Regions from separate parts of the Homo sapiens genome. Here all the other regions are linked to region 1. Evidence: promoter capture Hi-C in 16 types of primary human blood cells and fetal thymus (Javierre and others, 2016). All regions are on one chromosome and are shown on one strand. Each heading gives the region's core, a stretch centred on a gene start or on the middle of the fragment in contact. The rest is flanking DNA. Distances are from core to core; before and after follow the strand shown. Region 1 holds the start of SENP5 (SUMO specific peptidase 5). Region 2 has its middle 11 kb from the start of SMCO1. Region 3 has its middle 22 kb from the start of FBXO45. Region 4 has its middle 25 kb from the start of LINC01063.

Region 1 (3,351 bases), core at 372-2,871:
GATCTGCCCGCCTCGGCCTCCCAAAGTGCTGGGATTACAGGCGTCAACCACCGCGCCCGGCTGATCCCAGCACTTTTGAGAGGCGGAAGCAGGTAGATCACTTGAGGTCAGGAGGTCGAGACCAGCCTGGCCAACATGGTGAAACCCCATGTCTACTAAAAATACAAAAATTAGCCGGGCGCGATGGCGGGCACCTGTAATCCCAGCTACTCTGGAGGCTGAGGCAGGAGAATCGCTTGAACCTGGGAGGAGGAGGTTGCAGTGAGCTGAAAAGATCGCGCCACTGCACTCCAGGCTGGGTGTCAGAGTGAGACCCTGTCCCCCCTCCAAAAAAAAATTGTGAGCCCAGGTGTAAATGAAGCCCCCCTCCCCAGCACCCTCCTCTACATACCAAGCTTTTCTCCTAGAAAAGATGCACTGGGAAAAAGCTATCTTGAGTAAAGATCAAAACTGATATAAGCCATCCCTCATATACCAATAATATGCCATCAATAAGCGTGAGACATGTGGATGGCTAGGAGAGAGTCTGGTTTCTTCCTGATGCTGCCCACCCAAAACAGAGACTGCAGTTAGGCTCTGACCACACGAGCGCCTGGCATCTCTAGGCAACCTTTTCCATACCAAGCTTAGTTATTCCGGGCAAAATGCAAAAAAAAAACATAAGTAGGAACCTATCATGAAGTGTCCTGGATATTCTTAAATTAAATTTAACCAGATTCTCAAAACATTTCATAACTAACGTCTGCTTTCTTCATTTAATTCTCCAAACATTATAATTTACATTGGTAGAAGAAAGTCCCACTTTACCTGCGGTGAAAAAGGTCGAAATGTCTATCTAGCATGAGATGAAAAACACTACCAGAGAGCAGGGTAGGATTTCACCTCGGCTATTCTCGCTCTAAGTCCAAAACTCCCACATCCTCTCCGCATCCCTCCACCCCGACAGAGTGGCCACAGGGCGTAGAGCGGAGGCTGATACCGCTCAGAGCAGACCGAAGGGAAAAGACGTCTCCCACCGCGCTCATGCCCAACCGGGCTCTCTGGAAAAGGGTCCCGGGGAGCGCGAGGAAAGAAACGAAGGCCGGAAGGAGGCAGAGCGGTCTAAGCAAATAAAAACCCCGGACTTCCACGGCGGCCGGAGCTGGAGGCCTGTGACAGCGGCTCCTCCTCTCAGAGCTTTCCCGGCTTCAGGAGGAGCTGGGGGGCGCCAGCTTCCCGGTGCCTGCGACGCACAGCCCGGCTGGAGCGAGAGCGCAGGGCAGCGGCCCCTCGGGACGAGCTCGCTCGCCTCCCCCGGAAAGGGAGGCTGTGGCCGAGACGGACGGCGGCCTCCAGCTCGGGCGGGGGAGGGCGGCTCGAGGCCTCCGGACCGGGCGCTGAGGTGGCGCACCGGCGCGGGAATGGCCCCAGCCAGCCCCGCCAGGCGATCGCTGAGTCCGTCACTCGTCTGCCCGCGTCCCCGCTTACCTGCTACCCTCGTTCCTGGCAGCTGCCCCGCCGCCGGCCCCGTCGCGGCAGCAGCCTGGACCGCGGACCCCGCCTTCGTCAGCTCCAAGGGAAGCCCCGCCAGCGACGAGGCGTCCGGCCTGTTCGCCGCGGCCACAGCCGCCGAGCTTCCTCTGAAGCGGCTGCCGCGACGCCGGCGCTGGCCTATCGCGTCACCTCCTCCGCGCCCTTCCGCCTGCGAGGCTGGGCCTGGCACCGCCCGCTTCCGGCGCTCCCGCCCCGCCTCCCGACCCGGGGCCGCCCCGCCCCCGCCCGTCACCGCGTCCTTAGCCCCGGCCTCCCTCAGAACGCGCTGGGATGGGAACCGCGTTCAGGAGCTGCTAAGCGCGTTTGAGACTTCAGCCCCTTCTCCAGCTTTTAACCTAAAAGGGCTAAATCAGACCGCAGCTAGTGTACACCCCTACCCTCCGCTGATCCCGTCACCCCTGCGCCGAAAGCAAAAGACCCATTCCAGCTCTGGACGTTGTGAGGCCTGGCCCAGGCGTCCGCTCTCTGGTTTTCCTATTGATCTTACCCCTGGTATTGTGATTGGCCTCTTTATCTATGTCTTACCCGCCCCAACTGTGAATGCTTTCCAAAATTATAAGCCGATGTCCTGACAGGCAAAAACATAATAATAGCAGATTTATGGCGGAAGATGAGTTCAGTTTTGAACATACTCGATCTGGAAGAATAAAGTGGAGGTGACTGCAATGGAAAACCAACAGTGCGTTGCTGAGAGCCTGTGTAGGCAGTAAGGATATGCATTGATGGTGGAGAAGATAAAAACAATACCGAAGCCAACTGCAGGATGGTTTGCTTTTAATTATCATCATGTGTCAGAAAATTCTAAACAATGTTAATGAAAAAGTACTCCTTTCCAAACAAAAGCTTTGTTTAGTCTTAGTTCTAAGCAATGGCTGCAATTACTGTTGATTTTTTTTTCTTTTTTCTTTTCTTTTTTTTTTTTTTCCAAACAGGGTCTTGCTGTCTCGCCCAAGCCGGAGTGCCGTGGCACACCCTAGGCTCGCTGTAACCTCTGCCTCCTGGGCTCAAGCGATCCTCCCACCTCATCTTCCAGGGTACCTGCGACCACAGGCTCCTGCACCACGCCCGGCTAATTTTTTATTACTATTACTATCATTATTTTTGTAGCGATGACATCTCCCTATGTTGCCCAGGCTGGTCTTGAACCCCTGAGCTCAAGTGATCCTCCCACCTGGGCCTCCCACAGTGCTCGAATTACAGGCGTGAACCACCACACCAGGCCCTCTCACTTCTTTTTAACAGTTTCTCTTTGTCAGTGATTTTTTTTTTTTTTTTAGAGGAGTGTCGCTCTGTCGCCCAGGCTGCAGTGCAGTGGCGCCATCTCGGCTCACTGCAAGCTCTGCCTCCCGGGTTCACGCCATTCTCCTGCCTCAGCCTCCTGAGTAGCTGGGACTACAGGCGTCCACCACCACGCTTGGCTAATTTTTTTTGTATTTCTTTAGTAGAGACCGGGTTTCACCAAGTTAGCCAGGATAATCTCGATCTCCTGACCTCGTGATCTGCCCGCCTCAGCCCCCCAAAGTGCTGGGATTACAGGCGTGAGCCACCGCACCCAGCCTGTTAGTGATTTTTAGCCATTTATTTTGTGCCCTATCTTTGTTTTCTTTGTATTTATCTGTCTTGGATATCATTGAGTTTCTCTGATTTGTGGGTAGATGTCTTGCATCAGTTTTGAGAAATTCTCAATCATTATCTCTTCAGATATGGTTTTTGCTGCATTCTCTATGCCTGTTCTCCGAGACACCAATTACATATGTAAGATTATTATTATTATTATTGAGACAGAGTTTCACTCTTTTTGCTCAAGCTGGAGTGCAG
Region 2 (3,351 bases), core at 461-2,960, 340 kb after region 1:
ATTAGAGGCATGTGCTACCACGCCCGGCTAATTTTTGTATTTTTAGTAGAGACGGGGTTTCACCATGCTGGCCTGGCAGGTCTTGAACTCCCGACCTCAGGACATCCGCCCGCCTTGGCCTCCCAAAGTGCTGGGGTTACAGATGGGAGCCACCGCGCCTGGCTAATTTTTGTGTTTTTAGTAGAGACGGGGTTTCACCATATTGGCCAGGCTAGTTTCGAACTCCTGTACTCTAGGGATCTGCCTACTTCAGCCTCCCAAAGTGCTGGGATTACAGGCATAAGCCACTGCCCAGCCAAGATGGCACTTTTGACAACATCTGTTTGTCCAGATCAGCAATGAGTCAGCAATTGACTTCTACAGAAGTTTGGCTTTGAGATGACTGAGACAAAGACAGATAAAGGATAAGAGGATGGAGCCTGCAGATGCTCAGGAGTTGCAGAAAAACCTCAAAGTCCCTTCCGATCAGAATGGAGATATGCAAAACACAACTGAACAAGTCACAAAATGAACCTTCTTGCACTTGCTTGTTGACAAAAAAAGACAAGCCCATTGATTTTCACCCCCTCTTTCTTGTAAAGCTTTCCTGCACTGCCATGTTTTTGTTTTTCCTTCTTTCTTTTCTTTTCAAAGTTTTAATACTTTCAAGGACTTTAAAAATGATCATGTTTGGGCCAGGCGCAGTGACTCACTCCTGTAATCCCAGCACTTTGGGAGGCCAAGGTGGGTGGATCACTTGAGGTCAGGAGTTCCAGACGAGCCTGGCCAACATGGTGAAACCCCATCTGTACTAAAAATACAAAAATTAGCCAGGCGTGGTGGCGTGTGCCTGTAGTCCCAAGCTACTCAGGAGCCTGAGACAGGGGAATCGCTTGAACCTGGGAGGCAGAGGTTGCAGTGAGCCGAGATCGTGCCACTGCACTCCAGCCTGGGCCACAGAGCAAGACTCCATCTCAAAAAAAAAAAAAAAAAAAAAAAAAAAAAAAAGATCATGTTTGGATTGTTTCAGTTCTCTTATTTTTGTGAGGTGGTTTGACTGAAGGCAGGAGAAGGTAGATCTGTTTAATTTCACAGTTAAGATAAATGGTTCTAAAAATTTAGGTGTCAAATAATTTCACATTTCTTAGCTTGGAGTTGGAGACCAGCCTGGGCAACATAGCAAGACTCTGTCTCTATTTTTTTTTTTTGGAGACGGAGTCTCACACTGTTGCCCAGGCTGGAATGCAATGGCGAGATCTCAGCTCACTGCAACCTCCGCCTTCTGGGTTCAAATGATTCTCCTGCTTCAGCCTCCTGAGTAGCTGGGACTACAGGCGCCTGCCACCACGTCCGGCTAATTTTGGTATTTTCTTAGTAGAGACAGGGTTTCACCATGTTGGCCAGATGGTCTTGATTTCTTGACTTCATGATCCGCCTGCCTCGGCCTCCCAAAGTGCTGGGATTACAGGCGTGAGCCACCGAGCCTGGCCCTCTTAGTTGTTTTTTCTTAGTCCTGCTTTCACATCGAAGGGCAGAGCCTACAAAATATTGTACATTTCAAAAGACAGAAAGAAGCAGCAGTGATATCTTGTTTTCTAATTCATAGACGAGTTTAGTGTGCTTGTGGTACCTTGGGCTTTGAAAGCCTTTGTGGGATACCAATCCCTAGACATTATCTTCACTCCAGCTTTAGTCCTTCCGAGCACTCTCAGGAGTAGCACCGTTGCTATCTCTGGAAGAAATGCTGAGCATATTTATTATTATTATTATTATTTTGGAGACAGAGTCTTGCTCTGTCGCCCAGGCTGGAGTGCAGTGGCGGATCTCGGCTCATTGCAAGCTCCGTCTCCTGAGTTTAGGCGATTCTCCTGCCTTAGCCTCCCGAGGTAGCTGGGACTACAGGCACGCGCCACCACGCCCGGCTAATTTTTGTGTTTTTAGTAGAAAGAGGGTTTCACCATGTTGGCCAGGCTAGTCTTGAACTCCCGACCTCAGGTAATCTGCCTGCCTTGGCCTCCCAAAGTGCTGAGACTACAGGGGTGAGCCACGGCGCCTGGCCGCATATTTTGATTTTTAAAGCAATTATTTCTTCTCTTCTTGCTGGTGGGTGGGGCACCTTGGGTACGTAGTGTTATACTTTGGTCTAAGTATTTTGAGTTAAACTGCTTTTTTGCTAAAATGAATGGGCTGGTTTTTATCAGGTTTATTTTTCCTGCTGTTGTTACTAATGGCATTAACTTTTAGAGTCGGAAGCGGTAAGACTGATTTTTTAAAATATCCCAGAGATATGGCTTCTAATTGACCTAGAGATTTGTCGTAATTTAACTTTTTTCTCCTGCCCCTTTTCTTCAGTAAATCCAACAATAACCCAGGTGTGGTGGCTCATGTCTGTAATCCCAACACTTTGGGAGGCCAAGGCGGGTGAATCACTTGAGCCCAGGAATTGGAGACCAGCCAGGACAACATAGTAAGATGCCTGTCTGTACATAAAAATTAAAACAAAAAAAAATTAGCTGGGCGTGGTGGTGCATACCTGTAGTCCCAGCTACTTGGGAGGCTAAGGAAGGAGAATCACTTGAGCCCACGAGGTCGAGGCTGCAGTATGCCGTGATCATGCCACTGCACTCCAGCCTGGGCAACAGAGTGAGACCCTGTTTCTAAAAAAGAAAATGTTGGCCGGGTGCAGTGGCTCACGCCTGTAATCGCAGCACTTTGGGAGTCTGAAGACCAGCCTGGGCAACATGGTGAAACCTCATCTGTACAAAAAAAATTTTTAAGTCCATATAGGTTATTACCGCTAAATAAACGGAAGCAGGTGTTTTCTCTTGGACATACTGAAAATATTTAAAAGAAAGCTTAGATGGCAGCATGAGCATGAAGAACCAAGAAAGCATACTTGGAGTCAGTGCAAATGTTAGCTACCTTTCCTTTGCTTAATTCTAGTGCTCGAGTAAGAGCTATCAGCTCAGCTAATTGAGTGCTTGGACGGAGAGACACACTTTCAATGACGTCATTTAGAGTGACTACTGCATATCCTGCCTTATGGATTCCTTGTTCTACAAAAGAGCTCCCATCTGTGAAGAGGGTCCAGTGTGGGTTCTCTAGCGGTTTCCCTGAGATCTTCCCTGGCTGCATAGGTCTGTATCAGGACTTGTTCACAGTCATGTTCAGGTTCCCTAGTTTCCTTGGGGAGGAAAGTGGCTGGATTTAGGCGAGAACAATTTTTTTGTTTTTGGTTTTGTTTTTGTTTTTTTTGAGACGGAGTCTCACTCTGTCGCCAGGCTGGAGTGCAGTGGCACAATCTCAGCTCAATGCAACCTCCACCTCCTGGGTTCAAGTGATTTTCCTGCCTCAGCCTCCCGAGTAGCTGGG
Region 3 (3,351 bases), core at 400-2,899, 280 kb after region 1:
CCCACATATAGGCTATCTTGATTGTGATGGATATATACATACATCAAAGCTTATCAAATTGTGCACTGGTAAATAGGTATAGCTTGTTTGATGTCAGTTATTATCTCAATAAAGCTAATTTAAAGAAATAAAAAACTCCCCAGGTGATTCTAGTGGGCATCCCAAAATGAGAAGCATTGAGCTAGGTCAGCCTCAGCAACAGCCCCAGGAAGGAAGACATCTGCTCCGGAATCGCGTCGTGACCAGCAGCGCCCCCAGGACTTAGACCGCATGAGTCCTGTGCTGTTGATCCAGTGGTCTTGCCTCAAGACCAAAATGATAGAACATTGCTGAGCTTCTCCCAAAATTAAAAAGAGGCACCTAAAAATTTTGAACTGAGGCTGGGCGCGGTGGCTCACGCCTGTAATCCCAGCACTTTGGGAGGCCGAGGCGGGCAGATCACGAGGTCAAGAGATCAAGACCATCCTGGCTAACACGGTGAAACTCCATCTCTCCTAAAAATACAAAAATTAGCCGGGCGTGGTGGCGGGCGCCTGTAATCCCAGCTACTCGGGAGGCTGAGGCAGGAGAATGGCTGGAACCCGGGAGGCGGAGGTTGCAGTGAGCCGAGATCACACCACCGCACTCCAGCCTGGGCGACAGAGCGAGACTCTGTCTCCAAGAAAAAAAAAAAAAATTGAACTGCTAGGATTGTTATTCAGAGGTGTGGGGTATGTAAGGAAAAGAAAAATCCCGAAACAACAAAACACCCCCGCAGCCTTTAGTTGGCAGAGTCACGGTTTAGAAGGCAGTTGGTTGTCCTTTGGGGGTATTGCAGGCCCGCCTCCCTCGCTCTACCCGCTGGGCTGTGGAGCCCGTACGGCCAGTGAGGAACGCGGCACACCAGCAGCTCTCTCATCCAGCTGGCTGCCGATCTCCTTAACTCCAGGCTCACTAGTTCCAACTGCCTTTTCTGTATTTCCACCTCCGATTTAACATGTTCAAAACCGCACTCGTTACCCTCACCCCCCAATCTTTTTTTTTGAGACAGAGTCTCGCTCTGTCACCCAGGCTGGAGTGCAATGGCGCGATCTCGGCTCACTGCAAGCTCCGCCTCCTGGGTTCCCGCCATTCTCCTGCCTCAGCCTCCCGAGTAGCTGGGATTACAGGCACCTGCCACCACAACCGACTAATTTTTGTATTTTTAGTAGAGGCGGGGTTTCACCACGTTGGCCAGGCTGGTCTCGAACTCCTGGCCTCAGGTGATCTGCCCACCTCAGCCTCCCAAAGTGCTGGGATGACAGATGTGAGCCACTGCGCTCGGCCCCTCACCTCCCAATCTATTCCTCCTTTTCAATACCCTTTCTTAATAAGCAGTACCTTATAAATGTCTGCACCAAAAAGCTTCTCACTCTTGACATACAAATGGTGTCCACATGTGTTCCTGCATTCTCTTAAATACATCCCTCCTCCATCTTTAGTCACCTTAGTTTAGGTCCTCATCATTTTCTGCCTAGACCTCCTGACTCCCACCTTTCAGATATTGGTTTTTGTAGCTAATCATGCCCCTGCTGAAAACTTTTGAATGGCTTCCCCCATGAAAAAATAGACAAAACCCAAACTATTTGGTATGGCAATTATAATCCAGACGCAATTTCCCTGTTCCATGCCCTCCCCCACCACTTGTCCAGCATGGTTCCAGACATAGCGGACCTATCTGTGCCTCCGTATCATAGCACGTCCTATCCCACTTGCCTGGAACAGTGGATTTATCCTCATTAGCTCCCACCTACTATCTTCTAAGCTCAGCTTAAACATCGCCCCAGGTTAACTATTCCCTCTCCTATGCCACCCTGGACCTCACCTGTAATTTCGTTAAAGCAGTTACCTCAGTTTCACAGTAGTCTGTTTCCACATTTGCTTTCACAGAAGCTTGTCAGCAACTTCGATTTTTCCTTCTCATCTTTCCATCTCTAGTACCTGGTAAAAGCCTGCTAGATAACGGATGTTAGAAAATAATTTGATGAATGATCTTTCCTGCCTTTTTCATTCTGTCTACATTACCAAGTGGATGACTAGTAGCTGGGTGGGCAGGGAGATCCTTCAAAATTTCAGAAGCTCAACTATGGCCATGTAAAACCTAGAGTGGCCTCCGTGACTCCGTCGGCACTGAAGTTCCTGTAGGCTGTGCTCAGAAGGGTGGATTGCGCTGGGCTTTGCCACCAGTCTCTGCTCAGAGCAGTGTCTTTGCTACCAACATGTCTTTTAGCAAAGTAACCATCTGTCCGTGCTATTCTGGGCAATTGGATCATGAACTACATCACTCTTTGGCCTACTGAGGGGTTAGAGATGTCATCAACAACTCTCATTGCAACCTTAAGCCTCCTTTCCTTCCAAGGTGAAGATGACCAACAAGGGGGCACAGATCAATCATATGCTCTTTAAACATGGGTTGGGAATATGAACAAGTTAGCTATATTAAAATAAACAAAGATATCTGGTCTGTTCCCACTACAATATGCCTCTAATGAATCTAACTTGAGACGCTAGAATTTTAATACATTATTTCAGGGAGACTTTCTTAAGGGAGCTATGACCTCAAAACCATTACTTGATTTTATCCCCATTTTATTTATACAGGAAAGGGGGCAGAAATATAACATGGTGTACAAGTATCATATCATATCATAGACAGGACTTGACTTCTCTAATCTTTTCTTAATGTTTTCCTGCCTTAAACAGAAATTAAACACTATCAACAGGGTGACCTAAGGAAACTCCCCAAATGATTCCTACTTCTTGAGCCACTCATCATGAAATCCTACATACAAAAGCTGAATAACAATCTTAAATCTTAAAGGGCTACTTCTTTCAGCAAACTATTATTCTGAAGACTAGAGAACATGTTGCTCTCAACAGTATTTTAGTGAACACATTAAATAAGAAGCAAACAGTTCGAGGGAGGATCCAAAAAAGAAATCAGGACAACAGACTGGTAAAGCTGTCTCTGGCGTCTCTTTCCACTAAACAAAGCGGCAAATACAGAACATTTACACCTATTTTTCTTTTATAAAATTTAAATGCTTTGGGCTGGGCACGGTGGCTCATGCCTGTAATCCCAGCACTTTGGGAGGCCGAGGCACACGGATCACCTGAGGCAGGGGTTGCAATGAGCCGAGAGCACATCAACTGCTCTCCAGCCTGGGTGACAGAGCAAGACTTTGTCTCAAAAAAAAAAAAAAAAAAAAAAAAAAAAAAAAAAAAAAAAAAAAAATTAAAATGCTTTGAACTTTAACATATCAGCCAACTTGTTTAGCAACATCATCAACTGATTCTCTTTTAAGCTTTTGGATCACAGGAGCCGTGTATTCA
Region 4 (3,351 bases), core at 321-2,820, 260 kb after region 1:
CACAGGGCACCCCTTGGCACCCCACCCTCCCCTGGGCACCTGACATGTGCCGCTGCTGCCCCCTGCTGGGAGAACACTGTTGGATCCCGGGGAGAGGGACTCCTTTCAGAGTGGCCACATCAGGGGCAGGAGAGGAGGGGACTTTGAAGGGTAAGTGATAAAACAGAGCATTTAAATATAGCCAGACACTAAAATCTTTTCACAAAATGTCTGAAACGTCTGGCTTATAATCAGCATACAGGCCTGTGAAAAGGGGTCAAGGAAGTATAAGGTGGTTGGGTACCCACCTGAGATGGAAGCCTTTTAATGAGGCCTAGACTACCCATCTCCTCCCTTTGGTATATCTGAAGCATTTTAGCCTTCTTAAAGCACAATGTTTATTAAGTGGTAAAAAAATTATTCAAAGACTACATGGCTAAGATAATAAGCTTCATACTCTTCGACAACTGTTTTCTTCCCTTTTATTCCAAAGTCCACAAACTGACCCCAACTTACCTCTTTATTTCTGTCTCCCACTATTCTTCCTTGCACAGGCTGTGACCTATGTTGTCTTCTACCAACTCCCCCTGCACACACACTTATAGCTCTATAAATAACACACATTATAACAAAGTTATGAAACAAGAACTAACAAAAATGAAACAAGAACAGGTAAATATTTTTAAAGCCAATAACCTCATCATTGTATTTTTTATTCTTTGAATTCTGTGCTGTGTGCCTATGTTTCATATTCAAAAATAGTAAATTCATTAGTTTATTTTTAAATGAGAAAAAAATGGGTTAGAAATCTTACGAACATGACATATGTTTAATGACTTTTAAAATCTAATAGAATAAACTCCATACTGAGCACAAAGAGAAAATTTGTGAATTAACACAAGACAGAGCAGTAAACACGATAAAGACATTTTTTCAAGTAAAAAATATGTGACATCAGCTAGGCAATCGAGACAATACATTGGGTCTCTAATATATCCCCTTTTAAAAGCCTCAGAAGAAAATAACAGTAAAGGAGAAATGATTGAACAGATTATAGTTCATGTGAATATCCACATGTAAGAGAATGAAGTTGAATTCCTACCTCACACCATAAACAAAAAAATAATTCTAAATTCTCATAGACCTAAATGTGAGAGATCAAACTGTAAAACCCTTTGAAGAAAACAAAGGAGTAAATCTTTGTGACTTTGAACTAGACAATGGTTTCTTAGATATGAAACCAAAAGCCCAAGTGACAAAAGAAGTAAATAAATTGGACTTCAACTCAACAATAAAAAGACAAATTACGCATTTTTTATTTTAGTTTATTTTATTTTTTATTTTTGAGACAGAGTCTCAATCTGTCACCCAGGCTGGAGTGCAGTGGTGCAATCTCAGTTCACTGCAACCTCTGCCTCCCAGGCTCAAGCAATTCTTGTGCCTCAGCCTCCCAAGTAACTGGGATTACAAGTGTGTACCACCATGCCCAGCTAATTTTTTAAATATTTTTAGTAGAGACGGGGTTTCATCATGTTGCTCGGGCTGGTCTTGAACTCCTGAGCTCAGGCAATCTGCTCACCTCGACTTCCCAAAGTGCTAGGATTACAGGCATGAGCCACTCCACCCGGCCAAATTACTCATTTTTTAAATGGGCAAAGGATCTGTACACAAACAACTTAGATGCCTGTGAGGAAAGCATGCTTAGTTCCTACTCCTAAGATTTCCATTCATTTCAAGGACCTCTATTGGTGTGATAGTCTCAGTCTCTCTGCCTCTTTACTCATTCTGCTCCTTGGAGGACAGAGTGATGTTAAATAGTAAATTTAGGAAGAATAATCTGGATATGTTAGTTCTGCTTTTCTTTTTGGGGAGCAAACTGCTGGCGGTGTTTTATATATATATATATATGTTTATCAAATTGTTTGTATATTTGTTGCCTTGATCTACTAAACACTCAGCTAACAGACCTAAAGCTACGTCCTCTAACCTGGTCGCTACCAGCAATAAAGATAATATTTTGGCCTCTACAGGGGCCAAACCCAAGCAGAGAACCCTATCTTTTTATTGGATCTTCAAAGACAATATTGAATGACATAAAAGATGATGAAGATATGCTACAGTCATGGATGAGAATGCATTTCATCATAAAGATACCAATTCTTCCCAAGTCTATTGATTCAACATGCATATTGATTTATATTTTCAATTTTCAATAAAAATCCCAACAGAACTTCCAGGTGACTTCACAAGGTACGTTCTAAAATCTATATAGAAGAGTAAAGGGCCAAGAATAACCAAAACAATTTTTTAAAACCAAAAGTTTGAGGGAATTGCTCTTTCAAAATGAAGACTGGGGCTGGGCACCCTGGCTTATGCTTGTAATCCCAGCACTTTGGGAGGCCAAGGCAGGCGGATTGCGTGAGCCCAGGAGTTCAAGACCACCCTGGGCAATGTGGTGAAACCCTGTCTGTACAAAAAAATGCAAAAAAATTAGCCAGCATAGTGGTGTGTGCATGTAGTCCCAGCTACTTGGGAGGCTGAGGTGGGAGGATCACTTGAGCCAAGGAGTTCAAGATCAGGAGTTGGGCCCAGGAGACAGAGGCTGCGGTGAGCCGTGATCACAGGGCTCATGCCTGTAATCCCAGCCTACGATCCCAGGAAGATCACTTGAGATCTGGAATACGAGCTCAGCCTTGGCAACATAGTGAGACTCCAGCCCTAGAAAAAAGCTTATTTAAAACATTATAAAAGATCTATAAAAAGGATTGACCAGGTGTCATGGTGCACACCTGAAGTCCCAGCTACTAGGGAGGCTGAGATGGGAGGATTTCTTGAGCCCAAGAGTTCAAGGGTACAGTGAGCTATGGCCATGCCACTGTACCACAGCCTGGGTGACAGACCAAGACCGTGACTCTAAAACAAAACAAAAACCCTAAGATTGATTATAAAGTGAGAACAACTAAGAGTGTATAGTACTAGCCTATGTGTAGACAAAGAGGCCAAAAGAATCAGACAGTCCAGGAGCTGGCCCATGTATATGTACATATGGAAACTTGATATGTGACAGAGGAGGCACTGTAAATCAATGGAAGCATAAGCTATTCAATAAATAGGAGCAGGATACAATATTAACAGTATGTATTTAATAATGAAATTTCTACTTTCTCCATAACAAAAATAAATTCTAGATAGATTAAAAACCTATATTAAAAATGTTTTAAAGACTATTTCTCCTTTTGTTTTACAGATATGGACAGAAGCCTCAAAATACCTTTTATGCCTTTCATGGCCCATGATGCAAACTTGTCACGATGTTGTCAACTAATACAAGCCCTGGGTCGGAAAGCCTGTTTAATAAATCGCCAGGGCCAG

Evidence for each region. Contacts are between HindIII fragments. The CHiCAGO score rates a contact against its expected background, and 5 or more counts as called.
Region 2: a fragment that was not itself captured here is called in contact with the fragment with the promoter of SENP5 in region 1 in 1 of 17 cell types (endothelial precursors); the score reaches 5.0 in endothelial precursors.
Region 3: a fragment that was not itself captured here is called in contact with the fragment with the promoter of SENP5 in region 1 in 1 of 17 cell types (endothelial precursors); the score reaches 5.1 in endothelial precursors.
Region 4: a fragment that was not itself captured here is called in contact with the fragment with the promoter of SENP5 in region 1 in 1 of 17 cell types (fetal thymus); the score reaches 8.2 in fetal thymus.

The regions. Positions count from the first base shown.
Region 1 is chr3:196,866,190-196,869,540 of GRCh38, reverse strand. SENP5 (SUMO specific peptidase 5) reads right to left here and starts at 1,621. Exons shown (of 10, transcript NM_152699.5): 1 at 1,468-1,621. RefSeq lists an enhancer at 112-613 and a silencer at 1,265-1,844. The HindIII fragment of the contact is 1,751 bases long and covers 628-2,378 here.
Region 2 is chr3:196,524,977-196,528,327 of GRCh38, reverse strand. It overlaps the pseudogene NAA50P2. Among named protein-coding and RNA genes, the nearest start is that of SMCO1, 11 kb to the right of the region's middle. RefSeq lists an enhancer at 341-410. The HindIII fragment of the contact is 2,253 bases long and covers 584-2,836 here.
Region 3 is chr3:196,589,358-196,592,708 of GRCh38, reverse strand. No RefSeq gene overlaps it. Among named protein-coding and RNA genes, the nearest start is that of FBXO45, 22 kb to the right of the region's middle. The HindIII fragment of the contact is 528 bases long and covers 1,386-1,913 here.
Region 4 is chr3:196,606,171-196,609,521 of GRCh38, reverse strand. No RefSeq gene overlaps it. Among named protein-coding and RNA genes, the nearest start is that of LINC01063, 25 kb to the left of the region's middle. The HindIII fragment of the contact is 2,280 bases long and covers 431-2,710 here.